Linked DNA regions of Homo sapiens: regions 2, 3, 4, 5, 6 and 7 are each linked to region 1. The links are contacts of gene promoters, found by promoter capture Hi-C in blood cells and fetal thymus (Javierre and others, 2016). All regions are on one chromosome and are shown on one strand. The core of a region is centred on a gene start or on the middle of the fragment in contact, and the rest is flanking DNA. Distances in the headings are between cores, read along the strand shown.

What was found. The method cuts DNA at HindIII sites, captures the fragments that hold promoters and counts their contacts. A CHiCAGO score of 5 or more calls a contact.
Region 2: a fragment that was not itself captured here is called in contact with the fragment with the promoter of FER1L6-AS1 in region 1 in 8 of 17 cell types (M1 macrophages, naive CD4 T cells, naive B cells and 5 more); the score reaches 8.7 in M1 macrophages.
Region 3: a contact is called between a fragment that was not itself captured here and the fragment with the promoter of FER1L6-AS1 in region 1, in 16 of 17 cell types (M1 macrophages, activated CD4 T cells, M2 macrophages and 13 more). The highest score is 15.8, in M1 macrophages.
Region 4: a fragment that was not itself captured here is called in contact with the fragment with the promoter of FER1L6-AS1 in region 1 in 15 of 17 cell types (M2 macrophages, endothelial precursors, total CD4 T cells and 12 more); the score reaches 16.9 in M2 macrophages.
Region 5: a contact is called between a fragment that was not itself captured here and the fragment with the promoter of FER1L6-AS1 in region 1, in 8 of 17 cell types (M2 macrophages, M1 macrophages, neutrophils and 5 more). The highest score is 7.8, in M2 macrophages.
Region 6: a fragment that was not itself captured here is called in contact with the fragment with the promoter of FER1L6-AS1 in region 1 in 12 of 17 cell types (M2 macrophages, M1 macrophages, M0 macrophages and 9 more); the score reaches 9.8 in M2 macrophages.
Region 7: a contact is called between a fragment that was not itself captured here and the fragment with the promoter of FER1L6-AS1 in region 1, in 3 of 17 cell types (M2 macrophages, M1 macrophages and naive CD4 T cells). The highest score is 5.4, in M2 macrophages.

The regions. Positions count from the first base shown.
Region 1 is chr8:124,039,444-124,042,075 of GRCh38, reverse strand. FER1L6-AS1 (FER1L6 antisense RNA 1) reads left to right here and starts at 1,294. Exons shown (of 6, transcript NR_040044.1): 1 at 1,294-1,450. It overlaps FER1L6 (fer-1 like family member 6), which reads right to left. Exons shown (of 41, transcript NM_001039112.2): 20 at 2,070-2,194. The HindIII fragment of the contact is 11,424 bases long and covers 1-2,632 here.
Region 2 is chr8:124,462,499-124,465,130 of GRCh38, reverse strand. It overlaps RNF139-DT (RNF139 divergent transcript), which reads left to right. Exons shown (of 2, transcript NR_108047.1): 2 at 1-2,632. Among named protein-coding and RNA genes, the nearest start is that of RNF139-DT, 11 kb to the left of the region's middle. The HindIII fragment of the contact is 1,028 bases long and covers 829-1,856 here.
Region 3 is chr8:124,440,794-124,443,425 of GRCh38, reverse strand. No RefSeq gene overlaps it. Among named protein-coding and RNA genes, the nearest start is that of TYW2, 8.7 kb to the left of the region's middle. RefSeq lists an enhancer at 2,597-2,632. The HindIII fragment of the contact is 6,278 bases long and covers 1-2,632 here.
Region 4 is chr8:124,404,976-124,407,607 of GRCh38, reverse strand. No RefSeq gene overlaps it. Among named protein-coding and RNA genes, the nearest start is that of TMEM65, 34 kb to the right of the region's middle. RefSeq lists a silencer at 973-1,173. The HindIII fragment of the contact is 5,784 bases long and covers 1-2,632 here.
Region 5 is chr8:124,353,804-124,356,435 of GRCh38, reverse strand. The region is part of intron 1 of TMEM65 (transmembrane protein 65); the gene reads left to right. Among named protein-coding and RNA genes, the nearest start is that of TMEM65, 18 kb to the left of the region's middle. The HindIII fragment of the contact is 8,020 bases long and covers 1-2,632 here.
Region 6 is chr8:124,331,496-124,334,127 of GRCh38, reverse strand. The region is part of intron 1 of TMEM65 (transmembrane protein 65); the gene reads left to right. Among named protein-coding and RNA genes, the nearest start is that of TMEM65, 40 kb to the left of the region's middle. The HindIII fragment of the contact is 1,534 bases long and covers 562-2,095 here.
Region 7 is chr8:124,314,256-124,316,887 of GRCh38, reverse strand. The region is part of intron 6 of TMEM65 (transmembrane protein 65); the gene reads left to right. Among named protein-coding and RNA genes, the nearest start is that of TMEM65, 57 kb to the left of the region's middle. The HindIII fragment of the contact is 4,894 bases long and covers 1-2,632 here.

The DNA.
Region 1 (2,632 bases), core at 45-2,544:
CCAGGGGTCCATCCTATGAGAACTCCCTTGCTGTAGGAAGGAAGCCTCAATTACAACAACAACAAGCAGTCACATAGGCCTTAGTTTTAAGCAAGGTACTGTCCTGGGTATTTTATCCTCTGGAAGGAATGTACAAGGTTATCATCCCTATTTCACAGATAAAGAAATTGAGGCACAAACAGAGGTTTGTTTAGAGTCACACAGCTGATAAATGGAAGAGCGTGGATTTTGACCCAGACAGCGCAGCTCCAGAGTCTATACTCATCATCACCATGCTCTATACTAACTCTCAAAACACAGGAAAGAGAAAGCAGTCTGTTGTCTTCTCATTTTTATGCTCAGTCACTGAATGAGGATGAAGTCACCTTTCTTCTGAGGTGTCTCCTGACTTCTCCCCCAGGTAGAACTAACCCTTTCTCTACCTGGCTCTTGTAGGACTCTGTACAGCCCTGCACCCTGAGGCTTATCATAGTGTAGTGACTCGTGTGTCATGAGGCCTGCATCCATGCCTGGATTGTATATTACACTGGAGCAGAGTCTGGTTCCTCTCATCCTCCAGAGCCCAGCATGTGGCCTGGCAAAAAGCCAGCACCCGACAGGCACTGGTTCAATGAATGTGAGGCTGGTTCACATCACGCTGTCAGTGTGCGAGTCATAAATCAAAATGCAGTCTACTCTATCATCGAGGTCATGGGCTTTGCCCTGGAGAACAATGTTAGCCCTCTCAACATCAGCCAATGTCATGGCCATCATTTATCAATCATTTTATAAACTTAAATATCTGCTTCTTCATGACAGTCCCATCTTAAAATGACAAACCTGAGGTTTAGTGAGTTGTGTTACTTGCCCAAAGACATGCAGCCAAAGAGGAGATGAGCTAGAAAGTAACCTTAGGGCACTGTGTGTGCTAACCCATGGTGCTTAACTCCCTGAGATGGGCAATTCTTTACTGAGTTTTCCTCTTTTCAAACCACAAATCAGAGAACAGAATAAATGTTTAAAGAACAGAATCTAATGAGACAAGCATCCTACTGGATTTTTGCTGATTAGGAATCCTTTCACATTTTAGTACTAGTTGTATAGGATAGGGAGAAAGACAGAGGAAACAGGCACAGACCCATACTATGATTTGCATATTTGTCTTTTCCAAAACTCATGTTGAAATTTAATCCCTAATGTCACAGTATTGAGAGGCGGGACCTTTAAGAGGTGTTTGGGTCATAAAGGATCTGCCTTCACAAATGGATTAATCTATGATTAATAGGCTGTCATGGGAGGGGAACTGGTGGCTTCAGAAGAAGAGGAAGAGAGGCCTGAGCGAGCATATTAGCATGCTCCACCCCCTTGCCACGTGATGCCCTGTGCTGCCTCGGAACCTGCAGGGTCCCACCAGCAAGAAGGCCCTCATCAGATACGGCTCCTCAACTTTGGACCTCCAGCCTCCATAACTGTAAAAAATAATTTCCTTTTCTTTAGAAATTACCCAGTTTCAGGTATTCTGTTATAAGCAATGCTAAATGGATTAAGACAACCCATCTCCCTTAATACTCACAATATCCATTATGAAGTAGTATTTTCCAGAGGAGGGGGACTGTGAAGCATAAAGATGTTAAAAGCATGCGAAGCTCCCCAGCTGGTGAGTGCAAAGTCTAGCGCATCTTGACCACAAAACTGGAAAATGTTTCTCCCCACTGAGACCCCTTCATAATGATTGGATCATAAACCTCCTGCAGGTTGATCTGTGCTGTTTCCTCATTTGCTCCTTCCCCACTGCACTTGGCCTCGTGCCTGGCACTTTAGCCTTCTCCGCCTCATTCCTCTTTTTCTCCCAGCCTTCCTTCGCCTCAGGGACTTGCATCCTTTGCCCTAGGACAATGAATCACACTGAAACAATAGACCTTCCCCACACCAGTCCTTCTGGGCACATATTCGCTTTTCAGTCTGAAACATCTACACACCCAAAGATGCAGGTATTTGCAACATGCCCCCGTTGTTTCTTTCCTGGGATCTTCTGTGGGTCAGTTGCAGGCTGCAGGAAAGAAGCAGGCTGTCTTGGTTACCCTGGTTACCTTTGTTGTCTGGCAGTGAGAAAGGAACGTGACTTTGGCAAAAGGGTCTGAAAGTCCATTGCTGTCAGCTGCGATGAGGCCCCGGGCTTGGTACATGTGAGCCCTCAGCTGAAAAACATGCTGTTCTGTGGACAAATCATGGAAGGGGGCAGGTGTTAGTGGGCTTTTCAAGAACAGTGTGTGCACATGTGTGTCTGTGTGTGATGTCCATCTATGTATCCACAGACAGACAAAAGGAGACCACCAGCCACATCCACCCTCCTCTGAGACAGGAATGGAAGTCCTGAAGAAAGGGAAGAGGTGATATTTATGGGGTACTTTGAACCCAGCCATCTTCCTTGGTGCTTTCACCAGGTTATGTGTCTTATTCTTCACTAAAACCATGCGAAATAGCATGCTCTCCACTTCATAGATGAGGAAAAATGGCCCACAACCAGGTTAAAAGACTTTCAAAAGTTTGCACAATTAACCCATGCCGGAGCATCGATTTTATTTCTGATTCTAAAATCCTCTTCTCTTTCTAAAATATCAAATTTTACTCCCCAGTAATTCTCCTGTTTATA
Region 2 (2,632 bases), core at 93-2,592, 420 kb before region 1:
GTGATTCTCCCATTGGAGCTTGCCTTCAACTTTCATGGCTTCTTATCACATTTACTCTTGTCCCATAGAATATCCTGAATTGGTCCATGCAACAGGGCTAAATACACCATACCTGCTAGAGAACTTTTACATGCTATGGATCCCACTGAAAACTGGCAGATTTCTATCTCACCCAGTTTACGAGTCAGAACAGTACTGCCAACTTCTGAATTCCCACAGAAGCCTACACAGCTTGGTGTGCTTCCCTGGTGGCAGAATAATTTTGGTGAAATGAGTGGGTGAGATGCAATAATTTGTCCTTTACTGTGAAGGGGATATCTTGGCATTCAAGCAGCCTACTGGGCCCTAAAAGTTTCACTGAGGTAACAGCTTGCTGGGTCTTAAGGATTATTTCCCATCCTCCAGTGTACAGTATGCTAGCTGCTTATTATTCACCTTATCCAGCTAGCATGATGTCATCAATGTGGTAGGTCATTGTGACATTATGTGGGATGTTTAGATGGTCTAGATCTCTTCGGATTATGACGCAGTGTGGAAGAGTTAACATAACCCTAAGCCAATACTATAAATGGGTACTGCTGTCCTATATAAACACAAACTTAATTCTTGTCCAGCACTCTCAGGACCCAGTTCCATACACATGCTCATGGTTCCTGTTGGTACATGTTGGTTAGATCCTGCATCTCTTTGGTCATATAAGCCCATTTGGAATTGAAAGTAGACACACAGAATGAGGGCAAAACACCTGCAGAACAGCTGCTTCATCATGGTGGGCTTTTTTCATATTAGGTTTTGTTACCTTTGAGTTTTTAAATTATGTGTAAAGCTTCGATTAAAAAAATAAAAATTATTAAAAAGAAACTGAGACAGTCTATCCACCTATCTCTATTTACCCAGTGCTGTTGTTGTGTTACATAAAATTCAATTTTAGCTTCATGTTCATGCAATATTTTCGTTTACCCTTGATTCAACCTTGACCTTTAAAAAGCCAAAAAGACAAATACCTATTTTGACACTGGTTCTGATCTCTCTGAAATTCTGTGTGACCAATGGTCAAGTAACCTTGCAGGTTATTTATCATGTCTAATCTGAAAAAAGTCATTGTATTTACTAATATTTTAATATTCACCTTATAGGTAAGCATTCTAAACATGATTGTGGCAAGAAATTCTTATATGCTTTACATGTTGAAATTCTGTGTCAAATGAAGTACATATGTATATTATTGCAAGAGTGAATTTCTTCAGTAATGATTGTGACAGCTAGTAAATTTAAGTAGAAAGTAATTATAAACTTCCAAATACTTTTTTTAAATGGGCAAAATATATGAAACAATGGCCCTGAAGGCATTGGACATAGGCAGTGAAGGATAGTAATCCATGAGAGATGGAATGCAAACAAGGTGAGCAATACAATTGCTCCAACTTGCTGCCTGAAGAAAGGCTTTGGCATGGGGAGAGGGAACCCAGAAGACTCTGTGAGGTGAGGAGATATAAGTGGGAGTCCTGAGAGCCCAAGGCAACTAGAGTTCACAGGGTAGAATACTAGAGAGGACAGAGTGACACAGAGAGAACTCCAGAGATCTGCTGACCATTCTCCTGAAGTATTAAGCTAAATAATGATTAGTACATGCATGAGAGGAAATAACCAAAGGCTTGGCAAAGAACCATCAGAAAGGATTAAAGAAAACAATACTCAAAGCTCACACAGGATGGTGAATGATTCCTGATCCCGTCAGCAAGAGTGGAAAAGATCCTAATTCACAAGGCACCAGTTAGAGTACTAAGAAAGGTCTTGCTTCAATAGCGGGAAAAATTAACCCTCGACTAAATGCTCTAGAATAACCTAACAAAGCTTAAAAGAGAGACCCAAAAACATTCAAACTGTGTCCAAATAACTTAATCATACTCCAGAAGAAAGTTCAAACTGTTTTAGGGATATGAAAATAATCTACAAAGTAAAATTCACAATGGCTGGCATCCAATCAAAAATTACCAGGCATGCAACAGAAAAATACAACCCATAATAAGAAAAATAAAACATTCTGGGCTAGGTGCAGTGGCTCACACCTGTAATCCCAGCACTTTGGGAGGCCAAGGTAGGTGGATGACCTGAGGTCAGGAGTTCAAGACCAGCCTGGCCAACATGGCGAAACCCCGTCTCTACTAAAAATACAAAAATTAGCAGGGAGTGGTGGTGCTCACCTGTAGTCCCAGCTATTCAGGAGGCTAAGGCAGGAGAATTGCTTGAACCCAGGAGGCAGAGGTTGCAGTGAGATTGTGCCAATGCACTCCAGCCTGGGCAACAGAGCAAGACTCCATCTCAAAACAAACAAAAAATAAAACATTCTGTCAAAACTGACTCAGAAATTACAGATGATGAAGATTATTAGACAAGGACATTAAAACAGTTATTATAATTATATTCCATGTATTCAAGAAACCAGAGGAAAGACTGAAGATATTACAGACAATGAAGGTATAAAAAGACCCGTATCAAACTTCTAGAGATGAAAACTCCAATGTCTGAGATGAAAAATATGTTAGATGAGATTAATGGCAGATTAGATATTGCAGAAAGAAAGATCAGTGAACTTGAAGATGCAGCAGTAGAACCTCCCTGAAACAGAGAG
Region 3 (2,632 bases), core at 55-2,554, 400 kb before region 1:
CTACAGCTTTCAATACTACACAGCATGCCATTATCCTACTAACTGAAGAGACTTCTCAAATTAGACAGGTAGCCTTACGAAACTGCATGGCTTTGGACATTTTAACAGCGGCTCAAGGGAGATCTTGTGCTATCATCAAAATGGAATGTTGTTTGTATATTCCATAATATTAACATAATATTACTCAGGCCATGAAGGACTTAGACACCCATATCTCTGCCATTAACACACTGTCAGTTGACCCCATATCAGGGTGGTTCCAGCAATTGTCTGGTTCATGGAAAACCTTTTTGTTCAGATGCTTGGAACAGATTCTGTTTTGTTGCTGTGGAATGTATTGCTGTTGTAATTTTTGTGCAAGAAAACAAGGTAAACCTAGCCAGGCACAGTGGCTCACACCAGTAATCCCAGCACTTTGGGAAGCCGAGGCAAGCGGATCACCTGAGGTCAGGAGTTTTAAGACCAGCCTGGCCAACGTAGTGAAACTCCATCTCTACTAAAAATACAAAATTAGCAGGGCATAGTGGGACACAGCTGTAATCCCAGCTACTCAAGAGGCTGAGGCAGGAGACTCGCTTGAACCTGGGAGGCGGAGGTTGCAGTGAGCCGAGATCATGCCATTGCACTCCAGCCTGTGCAACAAGAGCAAAATGCCGTCAAAAAAAAAAAAAAAAAAAAAAAAAGAAAAGAAAAGAAAACAAGGTAAACCTATTAAATAGCTTCTTTAAATTGAACACTTACTAATTTTCCAGATTTCACCTTTTGTTGAAAGTCACAATAATGATTGGTCCTCACCACGCCAACACTTGCTGAGTGAACTCCTCTCCAATCTAAATACAAGGGATCCCAGTGGTTAGGGAGGAATATCATTGCTCCTGTTCACCTTGAAGACATTTATGAAGATGGACCTCTGTCCCTCTGTACCCCTTAGAATTAAGGATCCCCTTATAAAAGGGAGGAGGAAAATATATCAGAGGTGTCCAAACCAGAGTGACTCCGTCTTGAATAAGGCCAAATGAAGTGAAACCTGCTGGATTCCATTCCCAGGAAGCTAGGCACTCTCCTTCACAGGACCTTTATGGTTGAGAGAATGAGTTAATGATAAGTAAACAAGACCCAGAACTTAACAGAAAGTCTTGAAGTCCTGATATCTCAAGACCAAAAAGTATTCTTAGTCTAAGAATAGGCTTCTTATATTAATAGATAATAGGTTTCTTATACTAATAGGTAATAGTATATCCCTAAATTCCTGCTGAACTCAATAGTTACACAAGAGGATAACATCAGCCTGTCACAAGCTGGTCACAAGCCTTTATAATAAAGCACATAAGTTCATTATTATTCTTAGCTTGCTTTCTTCTTCTTGTTTTTTTTTTTTTTTTTTTTTTTTGAGACAGAGTCTCGCTTTGTTACCCAGGCTGTAGTGCAGTGGCATGATCTCTGTTCACTGCAACCTCTGCCTCCCAGGTTCAAATGATTCTTCTGCCTCAGCCTCCTTAGTAGCTGGGATTATGGGTGCACGCCACCACACCTGGCTAATATTTTATATTTTTGATGGAGACAGGGTTTCACCGTGTTGGCCAGGCTGGCCTTGAACTCCTGACCTCAAGTGATCCAGCCTCCCTGGCCTCCCAAAGTGTTGGGATTACAGGTGTGAGCCACCATGCCTGGCCAGCTCCCTTATTATATAGCATTTTATTTGTGTTCAGAGTCCTACTCTTGCTTTTTTTTTTCTTTTCCTTTTTTTTTTCTTTCAAGACAAGCCTTATCTGTCACCCAGGCAGGAGTGCAGTGGCACAATAATGGCTCACTGCAGCGTTGACATCCCAGACTCATGAGATCCTACTGCCTAGTCTCTCTAGCAGTTGGGACTGCAGGTATGCTACCATGCAGGGCAAATTTTTTTTATTTTTAGTAGAGATGGAGTCTCATTATGTTGTCCAGGCTGGTCTTGAACACCTGGTCTCAAGCAGTTGTCACACCTCATCTTCCAAAGTGCTGGGATTATAGGTGTGAGCTACGGTGCCTGGCCTCCTCTTGTTGTTAGTTCTGAGGATGCCCTACTCTGTAATAGAGTAGTCTTTAATAAACTTGCTTTTTTCACTGTGCTCTGTGACTGGCCCAGAATTCTTTCCTGTCAGAGATCCAAGAACTCACTCTGTGGTCTGGCTCCAGACCCCTTTCCTGTAACAGTTTGAGCAATAAAAGTAGCCCGGGCTGGTACCAAGCACCAAAGTCAGATTTCTCAACAGTCAGGACCACCTCCACTCAGAGTCCCTTCTGTTGGATGCCAATTTGTCAACCAAAATATGTCTGACACAAGTCTCAGTCAATTTAGAAGTTTGTAAAGTTTAGAAGCCAATGTAAGGCACACGCCAGAAGAAGGGAATATAGAAACCACAGAAACAGTCTGCGATCTGTGCCTTTCTCCAAAGATGATTTTGTGGGCTTCAATATCTAAAGGGGAAAAGCAGGCTGGAAAGAGGGAAGGTCCAGTCACATCACAGAATCCACATGTTGCAAGAGACAAGGAACAGGTAGGGGAATAGTCAGTTATGTATTTGTCTCATGCTCAGTAAATCGGCACTTGATAAGATAAGGTGGACAACCAGCAGCTGGAGATATCTGGCCT
Region 4 (2,632 bases), core at 86-2,585, 370 kb before region 1:
AGCTGGAAAACCCAGAAGGTGGAGGTATACTCTGCATAAGCCTTAAGGCTTGAGAAGCAGGAGCGCCAATGTCCAAGAACTGGAGAAGATACATGTCGCAGCTCAAAAAGACAACAAATTTGCTCTTCCTCTACCTTTTTTTTTGTTGTTCTTGTTTTGTTTTGTTGTTGAGACAGTCTCGCTCTGTTGCCCAGGCTAGAGTACAGTGGCATGATCTTGGCTCACTGCAACCTCCGCTTCCCAGGCTCAAGCGATTCTCATGCCTGAGCATCCCGAGTAGCTGGGATTACAGGAGCATGCCACCACACCCGGCTAATTTTTGTGTTTTTAGTAGAAATGGGATTTCACCATGTTGGTCAGGCTGGTCTCAAACTCCTGGCCTCAAGTGATCCACCTGTCTTGGCCTCCCAAAGTGTTGGAGTTACAGGTGTGAGCCACCACGCCCACCCCTCTACCTTTTTATTCTTTTTTTTTTTTTTTTTTTTAGAGAGACAGGGTCTCACTATGTTGCCCAGGTTTGTCTTTAACTCCTAGGCTCAAGCAATCCTCCCACCACAGCCTCCCAAAGTTCTGGTATTAGAGGCATGAGCCACTGTGCCTGGCATTTTTAATTCTATTCTGACCCTTAACTGATTACATAATGCCTACCTACATTGGTGAGGGTGGGCCCTCTTTGCTCGCTGATTCAAATGCTTCTTACAGGCATTCTAAGAAATACTGTTTCATCAGCTATCTGGGCATCCCTTAGTCAAGCTGACAAATAAAATTAACCATCACAGAAACATAGACCTCATTAATCGTCTGATAAAGCAGTTTTTGTGGAGTGGTTAGGGTGGAAGTCCAGCTGAGAGGGTTAAAGAGTAAAGGGGAAAAGAGGAAGTAAAAATGCTAACCGGGAATATCTTCAAGTTTTTCCCTGGAGTGGAAAAAATAGGGCTGTAGCTTTATGTGCATGTGTGTTCAAGGGAAGATCTGTTTTTGTTTTGAAGATGGTTTTATGCTTGTGGAAGTGTTCAGTAGAGAGAACTGGAAGATGGCAAAGACTGACAGTTAATTCTAGAAGTGATCTTCCGAAGCAGACAAGATTGAATGAACAAGCCTCTGATAAGAACAGAAACCATGGCTGGGCACGGTAGCTCACACCTGTAATCCCAGCACTTTGGGAGGCTGAGGTGGGTGGGTCAACTGAGGTCGGGAGTTCGAGACCAGCCTAACCAACATGGAAAAACCCCGTCTCTACTAAAAATACAAAATTAGTCAGGCATGATGGCGCATGCCTGTAATCCCAGCTACTCGGGAGGCTGAGGCAGGAGAATCACTTGAACCCAGGAGGCGGAGGTTGCGGTGAGCCGAGATCGCACCATTGCACTCCAGCCCGGGCAACAAGAGCAAAACTCTGTCTCAAAACAAAAACAAAAACAAAAATGAAAACAAAAACAAAAACAGAAAACATTTACATATTGTAAAGGCTGAGAAGGCCCAGAGAGGTAGAGAAAGTTGTGATAAAAGGCCAGGGCCAGGCAGTGGCTCACACCTGTAATCCCAGCGATTTGGGAGGCTGAGGTGGTGGATCACCTGAGGTCAGGAGTTCAAGACCAGCCTGGCCAACATGGTGAAACCCCACTTCTAGTAGAAATACAAAAATTAGCTTGGCGTGGTGGCATGCACCTGTAATCCCAGCTACTCAGGAGGCTGAGGCAGGAGAATAGCTTGAATCCTGGAGGCGAGGGTTGCAGTGAGCCAAGATCACACCATTGCACTCCAGCCTGAGCAACAGAGTGAGACTCCATCTCAAAAAAAAAAAAAAAAAAAAAAAAAAAGTTGTGATAATAAAGAAGATTGGGCCAGGTGCGGTGGCTCATGCCTGTGATCCCAGCACTTTGGGAAGCCAAGAAGGGCAGGTCACTTGAGTCCAGGAGTTCAAGACCAGCCTAGGCAAAATGGCAAAACCCTATCTGTACAAAAAATACAAAAATTAGCCAGGCACAGTGGAGCATGTCTGTAGTTCTAGCTACTCAGGAAGCTAAGGTGGGAGGATCATTTGAGCTCGAGAGTCAGAGGTTGCAGTGAGCCGTGATCACACTATTGCACTCTAGCCTGTGTAACAGAGCAAGATCCTGTCTCAAAAAAAAAAAAAAAAAAAAAGAAAAGAAAAGAAAGGAAAAGGTTGTGATTGTGATGCTCTTTACTCACAGGCCTCTGCTCAGGAACAGGTGTGGAAAATTAGCCAATTATCCACAATTGGGTTTAGCTAGAGTTGATATTTTGCCAAACAAGCAAGATGGAGAGTGAGGACAGCAAGCAAATTAATAGTGTTTCAAAGATAGTGATTATAAGGCCATTGACTTTAGACGAGGCTCAAAGGGAGGGGAGGACCTACGACGGTTGATGAGTGATGAAAAAGTTAAAAGAGTCAATAGGTCAGAGGCCCTGATAGGGTCAAACAATTGTAGGTTTTGAGGAGTAAGAATAAGTCATCTAGAAGAATAGGAAGTGGTGGTCAGAGTACAGAGCTATGATTGAATTTGAAGTTGTTGAAATTATTTGTGCTGACCAGGCCAGGTATGACTATGAGGAAAGTGGCCAAAATACGGGGAGTAAAGGATCATTGCAGGGAGAGAAGAGATCAGGA
Region 5 (2,632 bases), core at 98-2,597, 310 kb before region 1:
GTCAGAAATGTGAATTTACTTTAAGTATATGTTACTGGTGTAGAGAGAAAAGGAAAACTCCTTTGCCCTCTGAAGATTCACTGACAGAAGGCAGATTAATAAGAGAAATGGCCTACAAATTTATTGGCATGCATGGGGGAAAATCACAGAGTGATTACCCGCTATCCTAATGGGGCCCACATACTTATATAGCCTTCCTTATTTAAGAAGGGAGGGGAGAGATGGGTAAAACAGGTATGTATTAGGCCATTCTTATGCTGTTATAAAGAAATAACCTGAGACTGGGTAATTTATTAAAAAAAGGTTTAATTGGTTCACCGCTCAGATTAAGGATTGACTCGTAGAGATTGGGAGAAGGATCCAGGTAGAGTTTCATGTTCTTCCTACAATACTGCTATTCCCCTCCTTCAGGTTTCTACTACAATGGGCACTTTCTTAGGGCTTTCTTGTCTTTTTTGTGTGTATCTGGTGTGATTTCTAGCAACAGAACCTGCAAGAAGGTGTGGACTCCCCCAGTTTATGCATACCCTAGTAGCTTCATACTGCCTCAAAATCTCCCACTCTGCCTTCACCTGTTCACCTACTATTTAGCTGTACCCTCTTATGGTGTCCAGTTGCAGCTATCCTAAGTAAGCAAGTACTAAGATCCTGTCTGTCCTTGCAGGTGCCTGCCCCTCTTTTGATTTAGGGCCAGTTGATTGCTCTGTGACTTCAGTTCTCTTATGGTTTAGAAATAAGCCATCAATTTGAATTGAATTTGACTGTGTTTCATTATAAAGGTGGGATGAAGCCCCTATGTTATATCACACAGTGAAAACTAGACCCCTGCTTCCCAAATTTTAATTTGCATACATCATCTGGGAATCTTATTGAAATGCAAATTGTGTTTCATTAGGTTTGAAGTGGGGCCTGAGATTCTGCATTTCTAACACATTCCCAGGGATTTCAGTGCTACAGGTCCAGGGACCATATTTTGAATAGCAAGGTTACAGAAAGTATTTTTGTTTTTAAGATAGGAAAGAGTTGAAGACATGTAGATAGTAGCTTCAGGCATGCTTGAATTGTGAAAGAAAATAGGCAAATGTGATAATGATAATATAAGATGTGGTACATTTTGTGAACTGGCTGAATTTTATGTGCATGAGAAAGATCTTCTGGTTTAAAAAACGTCCTAGAATTTTTTTTTTTTCTGCTCAAAGGGACTTCTTAATGACAATTTGAAAAAAGGTGAATTGTTAACCCTGATTTTGTAGCTATGCAACAATCACATTTGAGAAATAAATGCCGTGTAAGAGATGTGTTCTTTTTGCCTATCTTCTTTTACTTCCCATTATTACCTGGAATACACTGTCCATTGGTTAGTCTAATTTCTTTATTGAACTGTGACCTCCATCATACTTTTTTCTTTTCTGCTTTTCTTCATGTTGTTCTCCTGTGTTTTTCCCACCGAATTTTTTTATTCCTTTTTACATTTTGAAACAGTCTTAAATTTACAGAAGAGTTTCAAGTATGGCACAACAAACTTTTTTTCTCCTCTCCTAAATCATTGGATAATAAGTTTCTGATATGATGCCCTATCATTCCTCTCACAGATTGAGTTCCTTGGCAAGCAGTTTCTGAGACAAAGGTTAACATGCAAGTAGTTGATTGAGTAGTGTGCTGGTGAAATTCTCACCTTGGGAAGGGAAGGGAAAGAAGCAGGCTTGGGCAGAGGTAGAAGTAAAGGTGTAATATAGTTTCAGTGGAAGCCTCAGCTAACACCGTAGGGAGTTTTGGAGATGGGATGACACTTTTGTGTTGTCTGGAGTTGGGCAAAAGGGTTGGGCCTCTGCTTCTGTGAAAACAAGCTATTAGATGTGGAGTGCCCTGGGCAGGGTGCAGATCCCTGAGCGAGGCAGCATTCTTCAGCTGTGTCGGTCCCCCAAGATGACTGATTGTTGAGGGCTGTCTATTATCAGGACTTCTGGCAGCTAAGGATCAGATTATGTACCACATTGTCCACTGCAACGGGAGTACTGTGGTATGGATTTCCTATAAACAAGAACATTGCCCTGGATAACCACAATATAACATGGGTACTTTACTACCATCTAATACTCTGATGTCATTCAAATTCCACCAATTATCTCAGTAATTCTTTAGAGCAAAAAGATTCAGATCAGAATTGTGTGTTGCATTTAGTTGTTACCTATTTTTAATTTCCATCCATCTGGAACAGTTCCTTAGTCTTCCCCTTGAGTTGCATTGATCTTGACACTTTTGGGGATTACAGACCAGTTTTTTTGTAGCATGTCTTTGGGTTTTTTGTAGCACGTCTTTGAGAGAAACCAATTTGGGTTTCTCTCTTTCCTCATGAATATATTTCAGTTATGCATCTTTGACAGGAGTATCACAGGATTGATGTTATATTCTTTTTCATCCTATCATTTGGCCCATGATTTCAATTTGTCCTTGGTGATGTTAACTTTGGACGTTTGATTAACATGGTATCTATCTGACTTATGCACTCTAAAGTTACTGTTTTCCTTTTTATAATTTATAAGTCTTTTGTGAAGTGATACTTTGAGTCTATGAAATATCCCATTCATTTTAGCAATTTATATCAATATATTCTATTCAGTAGATTATAATT
Region 6 (2,632 bases), core at 79-2,578, 290 kb before region 1:
TGTTTTAGCAGGCATTTAATGGTTAGGTTCAAACTGCAAACTCTTGTGGGATGCCTTCAAATCTTTACTTATTTTGCCCTTAGTCGGTATTTTTGGAGTTTTCCCTGCACATGTGTGGTTCCACAAGCCAGCTGTAGACTTGAACTGAATGTATGCACAGAATTTAGGACTCTTCCTTTCTGACTCTATCCTTTCCAGGATTCCTCTCTCACTTTCTAGTTGTTTGGTTACCTGGCACCTCATCCTCTGGTTCTTCAGACAGAGACTGAGGAATTTTCATCAGAGCTTTAGTTGCTCTGCATGTTGTGACTGGAGCCTGCCCACAGGCTGAAAGCTGCAACAAACAGGTAACTAACTCACTTAGTGTCATTTCTTTTTCTGTGTTGATTCCCCTCTAGATCAACCTGGTTTCAATAATTTTCCAGTGCTTTCAGGTAGTTAATTTGTTGTATTTTTGTTTGTAGTTTGTGGTTGTTCCATGCAGGAGAATTCCTCTGATAAGAGGTTACTCAGCCATTATGGAAAGTAATATGGCAAATGTGGTATGGTGAAGTACAAGCTTAATAGTTATCTTATTGTTTTAAAATATCCAGAAAAGGAAAAGAGTATGATGTATATAATACACACAGACACACACACACACACACACACACACACGCACACACACACACAGATGGAAAGAACTGTTTTAACTCCATAGTTGATTTAATAAAACATTGGAGCAGAACACATTTCCAATGTAAGTGTAGATAGTTTATTATATGTCAAAAGAAAATTCTGAAATTAATTCATAAAATATATATATATGGAAATAAACCTTCTGGGATGTATTGTGACTATTTTCAGGGATGTTATACTGGCAGTAATTACATTTTAAAACCCATACAGATCACTGAAACCTTGGGCTGATTTACAAGTTCCGTTTTGTATTTTATAGGTAATTTTTTTTTTTTTTACTTCTGATGTATGTTTTGTTTTGATTCAGTTAACATAAGAAAGAATAACTTCTGATTTTAAAAAAAATTGGGCTGGGCATGGTGGCTCACGCCTGTAATCCTAGCACTTTGGGAGGCCGAGGTGGGTGGATCACCTGAGGTCAGTTCGAGACCAGCCTGGCCAACATGGTGAAACCTCATCTCTACTAAAAATACAAAATTAGCCAGGTGTGGTGGCACACACCTGTAGTCCCAGCTACTCGGGAGGCTGAAACAGGAGAATCGCTTAAATCTGGGAGGTGGAGGCTGCAGTGAGCCGAGATCGCGCCACTGCACTTCAGCCTGGGAGAGACAGAGTGAGACTCCATCTCAAAAAAATAATAATAATATAAAATAAATTAATAGATACTTCCTAATAAGATTGTCACTTTCTAGGAAATGTTCTTTTCATGATTCCTCTTGTACTCTGTAGGTTCTTTGTGAAGCAGGAGGCAGAATCTGTGTTTTGATTTTACTTTCACCTCTGTGCCAGTAGTTTTCCTCCCTGTTGTATCTCCTTTATTTTATATTTCTTTCTCTTAACATTTGTTATTGCCTCTGGTTTTTAATTTTTTATGTGTAGTAGGAAAGAAAGAAAGGAATATTGATTACATTATTTGATTTTTTTCTTTATTACTACACGTTTTTTACTTGCCTAGCCCTTATCTTTTCTTCTTCGCTGTTGTAGAATATTTTTAATGTTTTACTCAATGAGTTGGGAATTTGAAGAAGTAAAAGCAAGGACTCCATATACTCTCATTCTACTGGGGAGGTCCTGCTTGTTGAATTTTTAGGTATTTCAAGATGTTCCAGTCAACTGACAAGGACTTCTCACAGTGTCAGAACTGTAGTGATGATGAGACTAATGCAACTAACAAATAGTTCTGGTATGTAAATAACCACTTTTGCATGTTTACTTCACCAGAAAATTCTCTGGAGTATAGCAGTATCCTGTATTCTTAGTTAGAAATTTGGCAAACCACTTGGATGCTTTCAAAGGAGATTTTGAGTTAATGATGCTAATCAAAAATAAGAATATATTTTAATCAGATGTGAAATTCTGTAAGATTAGTATATATATCTTCATTTCTTAATTCTTCTAAAAAAGGAAAAATAAAGCTTAAGTTTGCTTCTTAGAACTTTCTAAATACTATGAAAGTTAATTAAACTCGAGGTTTTAGTGTATTTCTTACTGTAAAGCCATTATGGAACTTGGAAAATACCAGTCACTAATGTGGACCATATTTCCTTTTATGTAGGTTATCAATGGAGATTTGACTTTTACTTTTTTATACTAAATTCCTTAGTTCTTTTGTTGTTATAAAATATAAATAAATATTTTTGAAGATGTACATCTAGTTTGTAATGCGTTTCTTTGGATAATCTGGTTGTACTAAATCTTTAGAGTGATCCACTCTATGGGTTCTTCTCTATATGATAACAATTAATTCTGTCCAGTTGGTTGATCATAAAGAAGGTAGAATTTTCTACCTTTTTACCTTAAACAAATGGTGAGATGCTTATTGTTATAAGACCAGGTAGGCTGCTGCCTGTAATAATTGTTAATTTTTAGGTATAATGTTGACACGTAAAGATACTCTCTGGCTTATACTTGGGAAAACTTTGTTACTTGTGATTCTGAACAACACCCTACTTTT
Region 7 (2,632 bases), core at 90-2,589, 270 kb before region 1:
AATTTTGGGCTTTTCCTTTTAGTTTACATGTGTCCATATCTTACAATTTGTAAGTAAAGTGAGACTAGCCCCTGATACCAGCTGGAGTTTTGAGGGAATAAGGATATTCTAACATTCTAGCAATTTGTCTTAAAAATTTTAGCATTAAAGTTGGGATCAGAAGTTTATTTTCCTGGGGCATAATAATTGTTTTCTTTCTGTATTAAAAGCAGGTTCATTTTCTCTTCTCTATGACAAAAGCATCAGATTACTAAACTAGTATTACTATATTGAGTGTGTGTGTGTCTGCGTGTGTATTGTGATAAACCCCTCACTGGTTTATGGCAACAGTGATTCTGTTCCTTAGTTGTTGACTCTGCTTGTTTTTAGAATCAAATCTTCTACTCTGTAACATAACATTTTGATTCTATACAGCCTGAAGTATTTGAAGTTAGTGACCAGCCATCTACTCATGACAAAAGCTAACTCTGAAATTTACCCATGATAGAATAAATACAGATACACATGCAGGTTCCAGTTGACACAGGTGTATTTTAAAACCTCACTTGTAATTTGGTTGTTTGAAATTCAAAAAATATTTTCTTATAAAACAGTATTACAGATGGGACTCAAGTTCTACAATTAGCCCCAGTGTAGTTAACTATGGGGCCTAGAGTATTGTAAGACATAATGATAATGTATAAATAAATGTTTTCACAATGGAAAAATTTGTTTCAGGTCCTGGATCAGGGAGTGAGAAAAGTATATCACTTTTTTTCCTCTTCTCCACCCTATTGACATTATATCTCTTGAGATAATTGGGTCAGAAATCACTGACTGGTATTCCTAAAGTGAGGGGCAAGGAAAGCCTTGGTTGCAAGAGGAATTTAACAGAATGGGTGGGAAGTGAAAGTGGGGCCTATTGGCAATGGTTATTTTCTGTATATGGGAAAGTCAGGAGTCTGAAATAGAATATAATGATTTCTCTATGCATATATTCAAATGAGTAAATATGTTAAAGTCAAAAAACAAGAAGCTAGGATTAACTTTATCAGCATGTGGAATGAAGAAAATTTCTTCTTGTTAAAACTCTGCATGAATGATACCTTTTAAAGTTTTGGCATAACGAAAATAACAGTTTTGACTATTAATATCAAGCAGTGGTCATACTACTAATACCACTACCACCACCAAAAGCCTCAAAATAAGAGTTGAAAAATTTTTATGCAAGCTATTGTCAAAATATTAATGTCTACTATTAAATTTGTTAGAAAAACTGTAGGATGTGGGCTGGGCGGGGTGGCTCACACCTGTAATTCCAGCACTTTGGGAGGCCGAGGCGGGTGGATCATGAGGTCAGGAGATCGAGACCATCCTGGCTAATACAGTGAAACCCCGGCTCTACTAAAAATACAAAAAATTAGCCGGGCGTGGTGGTGGGCACCTGTGGTCCCAGCTACTCAGGAGGCTGAGGCAGGAGAATGGCATGAACCCAGGAGACGGAGCTTGCAGTGAGTCGAGATTACATCACTGCACTCCAACCTGGGCCACAGAGAGAGACTCCGTCTCAAAAAAAAAACAAACAAAAAAAAAACTGTAGGATATGATAGCTAAATAGACAATGTATAAGAGAAAACATTTCATTCAAGACTAAAGATTATGTAGCTATCATAGTAACTGTAATGTTTGATAGAACTTATTTTGTCTTTCCCTGTGTACCTAACTAGAAGTTCCTGGAGGAGAGAGACAGACTGCATAAGATTAGTCCATCTCCATGGTACACCCAGTACAGAGTTTGACACATAGTAGCTTCTCAATAAATATTTGTATGAGGAAATGAAACTTAATTGAAAAGTATATAAACTTGATAGTCATCATAGGAATGCAAATTTTGAAAACCATTTACAAAAATAACAATTTTAAATTTTTATAATGATCTGGGTGTGGTGGCTCCCAGAGCCTGTAATCTCATTTGGGAGGCCAAGGTGGGAGGATTTCTTGAAGCCAGGAGTTCAAGATCAGCCTGGGCAACATAGGGAGACCCTGGCTCTACAAAAAAAAAAAATAATAAAAGTAACAAAATTATCTAGGCATAGTGGCATGTGTCTGTAGTTCTAGTTACTGGGGAGACTGAGTCAGGAGGCTCGCTTGAGCCAAAGAGTTCGGGAAGAGATCAGGAAGATGGCTTGAGCCAAGGCTGCAGTGGGTTATGATCATACCACTGCGTTCCAGCCTAGGTGACAAAGGGAGACCCTGTCTCTAAAACAAATAAAATAAATAAAAATGAAATAAAATTTTTATAATGTAGGTGAAGTTGCAGGATAATTGGTATGTGTGTCTACATTTATGTATACTGAAATTGCTATGTAAGTATGTGCAGCGTTGTCAAGGATGAATGCTTCATGAAGATGCACAAATATTAATACTGTTTGACTTTTAAACAAATCATTGGGGAAGAAATATACATGGAAATGCTTATTGTTATTTCACTTATAATGTTGAAGAAGTAGCAGTGGCTATGGCGGTAAAGAGAGATTTAAGTAGAATATAGACCCGTCAATTCAGTTGAACTTAGAAGTCTTTAAGTTTGTGTAGCAGTTTGGAAAAGAGTTTGTGAGAAAATGTGTGGCTATGCAGGGGTACGGATTGAGGA